4 separate regions of the Homo sapiens genome follow, and regions 2, 3 and 4 are each linked to region 1. Evidence: promoter capture Hi-C in 16 types of primary human blood cells and fetal thymus (Javierre and others, 2016). All regions are on one chromosome and are shown on one strand. Each heading gives the region's core, a stretch centred on a gene start or on the middle of the fragment in contact. The rest is flanking DNA. Distances are from core to core; before and after follow the strand shown. Region 1 holds the start of SLC20A1 (solute carrier family 20 member 1). Region 2 overlaps MERTK (MER proto-oncogene, tyrosine kinase). Region 3 has its middle 3.7 kb from the start of TMEM87B. Region 4 has its middle 5.5 kb from the start of MERTK.

Region 1 (2,847 bases), core at 110-2,609:
TAAATATCAAAATTCCATTATGTAAGTGGCACATTCAGAAAGGTTAATCGGAAAGGTTATGCACAAAAATGGAACCACCCATGATACAAATTTGCTCACCCACCACGAAGAGGACAAAACATAAAAAGAACTTACCAAACATAGCACTGACTGAGCCGGCCATCAGCAGCCCTTGAGTCGAGTTGTACATCTCCACGTCAATCAAGCCCTTCCGGATGGTTTCGCTCACTTTGGCCCCCAGTAAGACAGAGCCCACTGTTTCAAAGATGCTAGCTAGGATGCAGGCTTGCTTCAGGGTCACTACACCTGAGCCCACAGCTGTACCAAAAGAATTTGCTACATCATTGGCTCCCACGGAGAATGCCAAGACAAATGCAATAATGAAGCCCAGGATGAGCATCCATAGGTAGTCCACCAAAGGACCAGAAGCGGCGGTAGCAGCTGTAGTACTGGTAATCAGCGTTGCCATTCTCTGGAGTAGTGGTTGTTTAGTAAGAGAACTACTGAGCGCCTTTCAAGATGTGTAAACAGAATATGAGGTATCAAAAATGCTATAATAAATAATATATATTATATAAAATTAAATACTGTAAACTACGGCACAGAAACCGAGCTGGGGAGTTACTGCTATACGCTGCGTATGGGCATCTGTTGTCTGGGGTTTCTTTGGCTCAGGAGGGCTAAAAGCACGGAGCAGAATTCCATGGCGGAGAAGAGAAAGGACGCAAGTTCATCCTGCGGGGGAGGGGGGAAATAACAATAGCTGCGTGCCCCTGGGGGGCCAGTGGGGCACCCCGCTCTACCCACGCGCCCGGGGTCCCGCAATAGCCTCTGCCGGCTACTCCAGACCCCCATCCCCAGTAGGACGCGCGAGAAGGAGAGGCACGTGGCTCCGGGTCCTCCGCGGCCCGCGCGCGCCCAGCCCAGCCCCTGCGCTGCCAGCCCGCGCGCGCCCTCCGCGCGAAAATCGGAAAAGGGCCGTTCCCGCGCGCGCCGCCCGGGGACCGCCAAAAAGGCCCGCGGGCGGGCAGACGGGCGGAGTGGAGGCGGCCAGCGGCGAAGAGAGAAGCCAGCCGCGCCGCCCACGGCGTCCGCCTCCAGCGCCACGGCGTCCGCGCCCGGCCCCGGGGAGAAGAAAGAGCCTTTACGAGGCGGCGCCACTACTCACCAGGGAAAAGGGAGGGCGGAGCGGGAGACGAGGAGATCGAGGCGACAGCGGCTGGAGCCACGGGCACACGGCCCGGGTCGGCGGCACCGGGGACAGCTCAGCGGGACTCACGACCTTCCCAGGAAGCAGCCGCGGGGGTTTCAGCGGCCGAGAAGAAGAACCACGCAGAGAGCGCCGGCAGCCATCACTCCAGCGGAGCACCCCGCCGGCCCCTACTTATAGCCCGCGCAGCGACCCGCGTGACCCCGCCGCGCCTCGCGCCGGCCCCGAAGCCCCGCCCCCGGCATGACGCAGCCCTCCTCGGCCCGGCGTGCCCAGCCGGGTGAGCCCGACGGTGGCGCTCATTGGCCCGGCCCGCTTCGGCGGCCACGCCCCCAGCGGGGAGCCGGTCCACGTGGGGCGGGACAGCCCCCTCCCTGCGGCCTCGCCCTGGAGTCTCGGCACCGTCTGGCCCCGCCGGCTGATTACAGCCAGAGATCGAGGGGGACCTCGCTGTCCCCCTAGAGGCCGTCATGCGGGGTTACAGAGGCTGCGACCAAAGTCATTCCTAGCTCCTCTCTCGGGGCTCCGGAAAGCCGTCCGCGCCTCCAGCCGCACTTTCAGCGCACGCAGGACCTGCCGCGCCCGGTGGCCACACCCGTCCCTCTGCCGGGTGACGCTGCGGGAGATCTTGCGCCCTGGGGCTCCGGATCCAGTTCTGGCACGTTGTTGCACCTGTGACTTGTCCTTGGCCTGGCACTGTCCCTCGCCTGGGGGAAGCGGGGGGGTGGGGGGGGGATGCTCACGTGGTCGCTTTGCTCCCGCAGTCATGCACTTGGGTGAAAACAGACTGAAGAGTCACGGGAACCAGCTTGTCTCCCCAGTTATGGCGCAGAGCTGCAAGGATGGCTGTGGGTCATTAATTTCTCCGTGGCTGACCTGTGTTTGTAACGCCGCAGCTGTTGCGAGGGGGAAGGACACTGCTTCGGATTCAAATTCTGACTCCTTGCTGCAGTGTGTCACCTTGAGCCAGTCCCAGATCTCTGCGTTCTCACAATTGTAAAATGTTAACAGAGGCTGCCTACCTTGTGGCTGGAATTAAATGAATTAACGTGTGTGAATGTGACTAGAATTCAGTACATGTTCAGGAAAAGCTGATTTCCGCTTTGCTGTTACCGTGAATATTACTGTTTTAGGGTGTAGAAAAGGGTGGAAGGGGATGTTATTGCATCCTGGAAGCTTATCCTTTTGAGGTAAAGATTGATTTCTGGTCCCCTGCGTGGTATATAGTGTAGTTTTGACATTATTTAGATGTGTTATGCACATTTGGGTGTTGATTATATGGCTTACGATCAAGACTAACCAGTCATGCCGTGGGAGATTAAGGTCGTGGTCTCTTGTCAGGATTGTAGTGAGATTTAAAAATTCCAGCCAGAAATACCAGGCTTAGAATGCTCTGAAGCCCTCCCCACATTTTTGCCATCTCTAGCAGGAGGGCACTGCATAGCAGAAACAAAGACGTTGTAAATTGTTGCTGCCTGAGTCATTTATAGAGGCTTAAACAACCTGAATGTCCTCTGACCTACCTGTAACATTTGATGGAGTTGTATGAGTAACTTACAAAGCTGTAGGTCCCAAGGTCGGTCTGAAAAAGAAAGTTCATATCCGGGAGCACTGACCCCGTAGTGTAATCCTGGCAC
Region 2 (2,813 bases), core at 267-2,766, 640 kb after region 1:
TAGTATGTACAAAAATTGTCAGCGTGTTTTCTTTCACTTGATAATTAAAATGAAATAAAGTCCTGTATAATAAAACATTCCTTATTTATTTATTTATTTATTGAGCCAGAGTCTAGCTCTGTTGCCCAGGCTGGAGTGCAATGGTGCAACCTTGGCTCACTGCAACCTCTGCCTCCTGGGTTCAAGCGATTCTTGTGCCTCAGCCTCCCAAGTAGCTGGGACTGCAGGCATGCACCACCACACCCAGCTAATTTATGTATTTTCAGTAGAGACGGGTTTTATCATCTGGGCCAGGCTGGTCTCGAACTCCTGACCTCAAGTGATCTACCCACCTCGGCCTCCCAAAGTGCTGGGATTACAGGTGTGAACCACCATAGCCGGCCCCTTTTTTCATTTTGTATCTATTATTTCTCTCCCAAAAATGCCAGTAATAAAATTTCATACTTTAGAATGATTAAACTAAGTATAATGAATCCTTCAGGGCAAGGTTAATTCTGAAGAATTACAAAAATCAGAACCACATTTCTCATTCTGTTGTGTGGTAGCAGCAGCCGGTAATCAGATTCATGTAGGGGTGGTTTGCCTTTGACTTAAAGGGGTAAGGAAGATAAGTCAATAGGTAATTTCTGGTGAATTCTTTACTATTAATATTATACCCTTGACTACAGTATACAAAAGAACCACACGTCCCCTACCCTCCCATGCCATGGACGGAGTCTCACAAACCACAGGAAACATCTAGAGAATAAGCTCTTATTTTACATACTGTATATGAAACCTATTATAACAGCATAGCAAGGGCTAAATTGAGCACTTTGAGGAATTGGAGAAAAAGATTTTTCTATAATAAAATATATAATATAGTAAGGTATATAATAGATGAGTCATGTTGGCAACAAGAGAAATTAACCAGAAGGGGACCAGTTCAACAACTCTTGGCAAATGATTCAGTCTGGACCACAGTTAAGGCATGAACAAGCTCTTGAAAGATCAAAAAAATGTGGATAATTAGGACACATTAGTTCTCAGAGAAAAAGCTTTATCCAGTGGTTCTCCAATAAAGGAAAGAAAGTGGTCTAAATGACAAATTTTAAAATTTTAAATTAAAAAAAAAATTGAGGATATCTAAAAGTCAAAACTTACAGACTAGAAAGGTAAAGAAATTAATAATATTCTACACCAAGCAAGTTTCTATTTCATAGCAACCTGTATTCTGTCATTCTTATCTATTTTCTTTATTGGGGGCAAACATCCAGAAGCATGAATTTGTTAATATTTGCATGTCCTTTCTATACTTTTTCTGAAATTATTCAGGAACACTAGTGTCTGTTTATTTCCGCTGTTTAAACCAGAAGCCCCCACTCTCTGATTCAGCAAAGCTCAAACCATAATTACTATAAAGCATGTTGGCAAATCATCCTCGGAGTTGGTTGCCAGGAAAACAGGAAATGAGGCTTGAGATTATGTTCACTAGTTAGAAGTTTTCTTTAAATCCCTGGCCTCTACCCATCTTCTGTCACCCTAGAAGGTTCCTCTTTTCTGCCACATTTCATGACATTGTGAGTCCTTTTAACCCCAGGTCAAGCTCCTGATTGCAGTAAATTAGCCCACAGAGCTGTGCATGGCAATGTCTGGCTATCTACTTGCTGCTTTTAAAGACATTTTGTACATTAAAAATATCCATTCTTCTTCGACATCTTTGGCTTTTGTTAGAAATCTGTCTATTGATCCTTCTTTGTTCTCAACTATTTTAACTTTTGCCAAAAAGGGAAATGAAAGTCAACTTACAGGTAAGTTCAATGGCTCGCCGACAGAAGGATTTCTTTGCTATATAATTCACCACTAATTCAGAATCCTCCTCTGTGAATGCATTCCTGGGTGAATGAAAACAAAGATACTTCACTATAAAAACAGGGCTACTGGGGCAGGCACTGATTCCACAAGGATGCTACAGAGCTTCCGCTTTTCAATGGGCTCTTCTACAACAAAAGCTTTCCCCCTAGAAGAAACGTGTTTCTTTCCTTTGATTTATTTTAGACTTACTTGGCAATATTGAAACTACTCTAGCCAGGTACCGCCAAGAACAGAGAATAACAGATAAGCTCCCAGTGGCCAAAGCTGTAACAGTCTGAGCAAGAAACTAAAGTAATACTAGACTATGAGTATAAAATGAATATCCATAAGTCTATACTTATGAAAATATGATTGAATGAATGAATGGAAGAAAAGACACCAATCTCCTGTGGTGAAGAATTCCAAATATTTTATGTAGCTAGTAAGGGGTGGAGGGAGTTAAACCCTCATGCTGTCAATATGGGCTATGCATAGTGACTTGCTTCCAAAGAACAGTAGGGAAAGGGAGAAAAAATAACTTCATGGTAGAGAAACCCAGCAAATACTACTTCAGCCAGGTGATCAATGTCAACATCAACAGTGATACATCATGTTAATATGCACCCTTGATAAGAAGTGATGACAATGGCATTTTAATTCTGTGCTCCTCCTCTCAATCACCCATAACCCCTGCTCATTATCAGCAAAACATCGAACACATTGCAATAGAGGGGCATCCTACAAAACACCCGACTAACACTTCTGAAAACTGGCAAGATCATCAAAGACAAGGAAGGTCTAAGAAATGGCCACAGCCAAGAGGAGCCTAAGGAGATGTGATGACTGACTGTAAAATGTGGCATCCTGGAAGGGATCCCAGAACACTAAAGGGACATTAGGTGAAAATTAAGGAAATCTCAAGAAAGTAGAGATGTTAGTTAATGACAATGGATCAATATTGGCTCATTAACTGTAACAAA
Region 3 (2,770 bases), core at 221-2,720, 590 kb after region 1:
AAATTGGGAAACAGGAGCATAGGAGAGCCAGGGTGACACCATTTTAAAAATAACTCCATCTTAAAACTAGCAAGGTACATTTCTTGCCAGTCACCACCCATGGTCGTAAGATGTTTACAGTGGCTGGGCACGCCTGTAATCCCAGCACTTTGGGAGGTCAAGGCGGGTGGATAGTTTGAGCTCAGGAGTTTGAGACCAGCCTGGACAACATGGCGAAATCCTGTCTCTACACGAAATACAAAAATTAGCCAGGTGTGGTGGCGTGCCTGTGGTTCTGGCTACTCAAAGAAGCTGAGGCGGGAGGATCACTTGGGCCTGGGAGGCGAAAGTTGCAGTGAGCCCTGCACTCCAGCCTGTGTGACAGAGTCAGAACCTGTCACAAACAAAAAAAAGAAAGAAAGAGAAAGAAAGCAAGAAAAGGAAAAAAAAAAAAGGAAAATGAGGAAGGTTAGAATGAACTATAATGCTGGCTTGCAACTGATGATATCAGTGTGAACTCATTTTTAAAATTTAGTTTTATAAATAGATGTAGATATGTGTGTGTGTGTGTGTGTTTATATTTTCTTGCACTGATTCCCAGGAGGACCTAGAAGCAGCGACACCCCAGTAGCAATAGGTACATCTAGCACCAGATCTTGCTTTATAAATATCATTCTCCACTAAAATAAACCAGGGATCCTTGGAGAAGTGGCTGAGCCCAGGAATGGAATAGAGAAATTCATGATGAACTTGAGAATCTTGTTTTGCCAGAAAGTAAGGAAGTGGGTAAAAAATTATGAGGACACGTCAAAAAGGCATAGGAGCCAGTTTGAAGGAGCTCCCTTCCACTTACCAGATCTGGGACAATTTGGTCACCAAAATGATAGTAGTGGATTGTAACTCATTGACTCAAATAGGAATCCATGAGTCTATACTAACATAAATAAATAAATGATTACATAAATAGGAAAGAAAATCACTTTCTTACAGTTGGAAAACTAATAAATGCAGAAGGAATAACAAATTTAAAATATCACCATTTGGCAACTATCACAATTAAAATTGATTCAGAAAGAATCATCAATTCTATTCTAAAGTTAGTTGGCAAAAGCTTCATGAGGAAATATCTTCCAAAAATTACTTATTAATTACAAAGAGAAAAACAGTAATTATACAGTGGAGATACCTGGCAGACACCAACTTAATGATCAAGGTTAATCCCACAAGGATTGGGACAAACAGACATGATATGTATCATGATTTGATTAACTGAAAAGAAACAGCATGACTTCTGTGATATTCCTGCCAAAAATGCATGCCCAAAATGCAAAAATGCATCTAATCAAGCTATTCAAGGAAATGAGGAAAAAATTCACATACTTAAATCTAATCACAAGGAAACATCAGACAACCCAAATTGAAAGACATTCTACAAAGTAACTAGCTGGTATAATTTACCAAAAAAAAAAAAAAAAAAAAAATATATATATATATATATATATATATATATATATATATATATATGCCAGGTTCTTGAAACAGCTGAGGAAGTTAGAGGTTAAAGGAGACCCAAGAGACATGATAACTAAATGTGACATATAGGCCTAGCAGTCTGGAGCCTACACCAGAAAAATTGTTTTTGCTATTAAAATTCTTTAGACAATTGGTGAAATTTGAACAAGGACTTTAAGAAAATGGTATTGTCAATGTGAATTTCCTGAATGTGAAAATGGCACCGTTATCACACTAAGAGAAGGTCCTCTTTCTAGAGAAAAGCACACTGAAGTATTTAAAGGTAAGCGGGCACCACATCTGAACTTATTCTTTGGTGGTTACAAAAAACTTTTTATATATTATATATATAAGCTTTATATATGTATAACATGTATACCATCTCTATCTATCTATCAAGATAATCTAATAAAACCAATTTGAATGAAGAGTATGCAGGAGTTCTTTGTATTCTTCTTGCAACTTTTCTTTGAGTCTGAAATCATTTCAAAAGAAAAATTTCCAAAACTAAGAAAGAAGGGGGTAATCACTCTGTGGTTCTCCCTGTATATATGTTAATAAAATTTATATGCCTTTCTAAGAAGGAGGAGGAGGAAGGAAGAAGGAAGGGAGTATCTCACACCTCTCACATCCCATATAGGGATCCAACTTGGTGTCCTCCACAGCAGATGGAAAATTTATGATTACTTGGTAAAAATAGATTGATAGTCAACTGATTGCCAGAGTGCTTTACTCATTCTCTTTTGAGTCTTATGGGATTTAGAAAAACAAACAAACAAACAAACAAAACAGCTACCATATAATTTTTAATTTGAAAAATTAAATCCTGGAGCAAACAAAAATTGTCCAAAGAACAAATAAGGAAAAATTTGGCAATAGTTGACTGTAAGCTAGAACTGAAAGGCCCCCATCAATAGACCAGTCCTTCCTCTAGTGGAGTTTATTGCAGCTGTTATAAAACTGAATCACAGTTCAGAGGTTGCTGTGCAGGGAAATGAAAAGGCATTTGAGAACACGAAGTATCATGAGATCCTGAATTCAGTGCTATTAATGAGAGACTTTGGGGTATGGCTAACACCAAAAATGAATAGATGCTATTTTTGCATAAAAAGCTGTACATTTGATTCATTGCTTTTAATTAAAATATTGGATTGTATGAGAAATTTTGAGAGTATCATATAAAGCACCTTTTCCACATACTTCCATTTGCCTTCATTTAACTTTTTCTTCCCTAAATCAAAACTGATTTTAGTTTTGAGTTGAGGCTTATGGATATGTA
Region 4 (2,721 bases), core at 93-2,592, 750 kb after region 1:
CTGTTCAATGTGCTGAACAACATAATGGGAGTATAGGTTTAAGGCCTTTGGGGGCATATATTTTAGGTAATGTAAACCATTTGAAATATTGAATCAAACACACATACACAAGTGCAGTCATATAATTGCCTTTTTTTTTTTTTTTGAGACCGAATCTTGCTCTGTCACCAGGCTGTTGTGCAGTGGCGTGATCTTGGCTCACTGCAACCTCCGCCTCCCAGATTCAAGCAATTCTCCTGCCTCAACCTCCCGAGTAGCTGGGACTATAGGTGTGTGCCACCACACCCAGCTAATTTTTGTATTTTTAGTAGAGACGTGGTTTCACCATGTTGGCCAGGATGGCCTCCATCTCTTGACCTCATGATCCACCTGCCTCAGCATCCCAAAGTGCTGGGATTACAGGTGTGAGCCACTGCGCCCGGCCAGTTGTATAATCGTTAAGTGGAAGTTAAACGGTTTCACTGCTAAAAAATTACTGACCAGATCCAACATCTCGAGTTTGTTACAGTAAGAGGACACAATATAGCAAATAGCAGTAAAGTAAGAATAAGCATCTCAGTCAAAGGCTATTCATGGCCAGATAGGCCAGGTGCCAGCTCCTTTGTCCTAATTTCTGTAAGGAACGTGGCAGGATGCACTTTCTCTGTTGGATCAAAAACCATTGATGTGTGCATGGAACACCTCAGAAATGGGATCGAAAATGGAGTCTCAGCTGGGGATTTTTATATTTTGCTGGTCATCGGCATAGTCTTAAGGCATAACCAGCCTCAACAGCAGAGCCCTGTGGCAGGGGTTGGAGGGGTCTCGCTGAGACCAGGTGCAAATCATTTATCTCATTGTTTTCGAAAAGCAAAGTTGATGGTAGTACAAGTTTCCCTGAAGCTCCTCAGACTGATGGTTAAAAAGCAACATTATTAATCAATATGCTTCATGCTCTTGGCCAGGGGTCATTGCCACGCAGGAACTTCAAAACAGTTCAAGCTAATTTCAGGCCTGCTGGAATTAACCCTCACAGTACAATAGCTTTTATAGTTGTTGTAAAGTGAAATAGTACAAGTAAAACACTCCATTCAGCACAGTGAACACGATACTGGAATAAAGTATTTCCTTTAGTGGTTTCTTGGAGTGTCTTTCAAGATAATCCATCCAATAGGCTGAAAAACTCATTAAAAGTAAAATCTCACTCTCATCCCATTGGAAATGGGGCAGCACCATTTAAAGATGCTCCTCATTGTGTTGAACAAGGTACAGAAGGCCAATTGTTGAGCTTTTATAGTTGGTGGGTAAGTGACAACCTATTTAGCATCCTGGAAGAGGCATGAGAAGCATATCTAAGTGTTACAGTTTGTTAGAAAAATGAGCTAGGGCCAGGTGCGGTGGCTCACGCCTGTAATCCCAGCAGTTTGGGAGGCCAAGGCGGGCAGACCATGAGATCAGGAGATGGAGACCATCCTGGCTAACGTGGCGAAACCCCATCTCCACTAAAAATACCAAAAAAATTAGCCAGGCGTGGTGGCACATGCCTGTAGTCCCAGCTATTCAAGAGGCTGAGACAGGAGAATTGCTTGAACCTGGGAAGCGAAGGTTTCAGTGAACCAAGATGGCACCACTGCACTCCGGCTGGGGTGACAGAGCGAGACTCCATCTCAAAAAAAAAAAAGAAAAATGAGCTAGTGGGCTAGGCATGGTGGCTAATGCCTGTAATCCCAGAACTTTGGGAGGCCAAGGAGGGCAGATCACCTGAGGTCAGGAGTTAGAGACCAGCCTGGCTAACATGGTGAAACCCTGTATCTATTAAAAAAAATAAAAAAAATTAGCTGGGCATGGTGGTGCATGCCTGTAGTCCTAGCTACTCGGGAGGCTGAGGCAGGAGAATCACTTGAACCTGGGAGGTGAGGTTGCAGTGGGCTGAGATCACACCACTGCACTCCATCCTGGACCACAGAGCGAGACTCTATCTCAAAAAAAAAAAAAAAAATGAGATAGTGTATTTTTTCACTGTGCTGAGAAGTACAGTGGAAGTTGCCTTGTCTGGCACTTGTGTCTGTTATGGAATTGAGAGTTCTGTCATGATACTTCCTTTAACATGCTCAGCCACATACTAGGAGGCCAAGAGCCCAGTTTTTGAAATTGTTGGGGTGTAATGATGGAGAACCTAGGACATTTCATTCCATGTGCTGAACAACAGACTGGAAATACTAGTATCCAGCTTATGTAATTTGTTGGGGGGAGGTTGGGGAGGCAAAGTCAGGTTGTGTGTTTAAAAGGCTCAAATCACCACAGTCAACTGCATATGGGAAGTACAATTATTAGAGCATGTAGAGGCTGCATTTCGAGAGGTGAACAATAAAGTGGAAGGATCAGTGTCTAGCCCTTATAGCTTTTGGAAACTTGAGATAGTATAGGTACAAAACTCCTTTCACTATGCTGAACAATATCTATGATGTGCAAATGTTTAAACATTAGGGTTCACTGGGGCACTGAAATGATGCTTAGAGGGGTCTCAAGTCAGCATAAAGCCATACTGGGAATACAAAGTCTAGCACTTGAAGATTGAGGGAAAGTGAGACGGTGGATGTAGGCCGGGCACAGTGGCTCATGCCTGTAATCCCAGCACTATGGGAGGCTGAGGCAGGCAGATGCTTGAGCCCAGGAGTTCGAGACCAGCCCAGGCAACATGGTGAAACTCCGTCTCTACAAAAAATACAAAAATTAGCCAGG

Evidence for each region. Contacts are between HindIII fragments. The CHiCAGO score rates a contact against its expected background, and 5 or more counts as called.
Region 2: a contact is called between a fragment that was not itself captured here and the fragment with the promoter of SLC20A1 in region 1, in 1 of 17 cell types (monocytes). The highest score is 5.5, in monocytes.
Region 3: a contact is called between a fragment that was not itself captured here and the fragment with the promoter of SLC20A1 in region 1, in 4 of 17 cell types (fetal thymus, total CD8 T cells, non-activated CD4 T cells and 1 more). The highest score is 7.5, in fetal thymus.
Region 4: a contact is called between a fragment that was not itself captured here and the fragment with the promoter of SLC20A1 in region 1, in 1 of 17 cell types (fetal thymus). The highest score is 7.6, in fetal thymus.

Annotation. Positions count from the first base shown.
Region 1 is chr2:112,644,451-112,647,297 of GRCh38, reverse strand. It overlaps SLC20A1 (solute carrier family 20 member 1), which reads right to left and starts at 1,359. Exons shown (of 11, transcript NM_005415.5): 1 at 1,169-1,359; 2 at 136-735. The coding sequence starts at 469. RefSeq lists silencers at 112-406, 868-1,697. The HindIII fragment of the contact is 3,268 bases long and covers 1-2,388 here.
Region 2 is chr2:112,000,262-112,003,074 of GRCh38, reverse strand. It overlaps MERTK (MER proto-oncogene, tyrosine kinase), which reads right to left. Exons shown (of 19, transcript NM_006343.3): 11 at 1,789-1,874. Among named protein-coding and RNA genes, the nearest start is that of TMEM87B, 54 kb to the left of the region's middle. The HindIII fragment of the contact is 954 bases long and covers 1,040-1,993 here.
Region 3 is chr2:112,050,199-112,052,968 of GRCh38, reverse strand. No RefSeq gene overlaps it. Among named protein-coding and RNA genes, the nearest start is that of TMEM87B, 3.7 kb to the left of the region's middle. The HindIII fragment of the contact is 755 bases long and covers 1,093-1,847 here.
Region 4 is chr2:111,891,703-111,894,423 of GRCh38, reverse strand. No RefSeq gene overlaps it. Among named protein-coding and RNA genes, the nearest start is that of MERTK, 5.5 kb to the left of the region's middle. The HindIII fragment of the contact is 6,163 bases long and covers 1-2,721 here.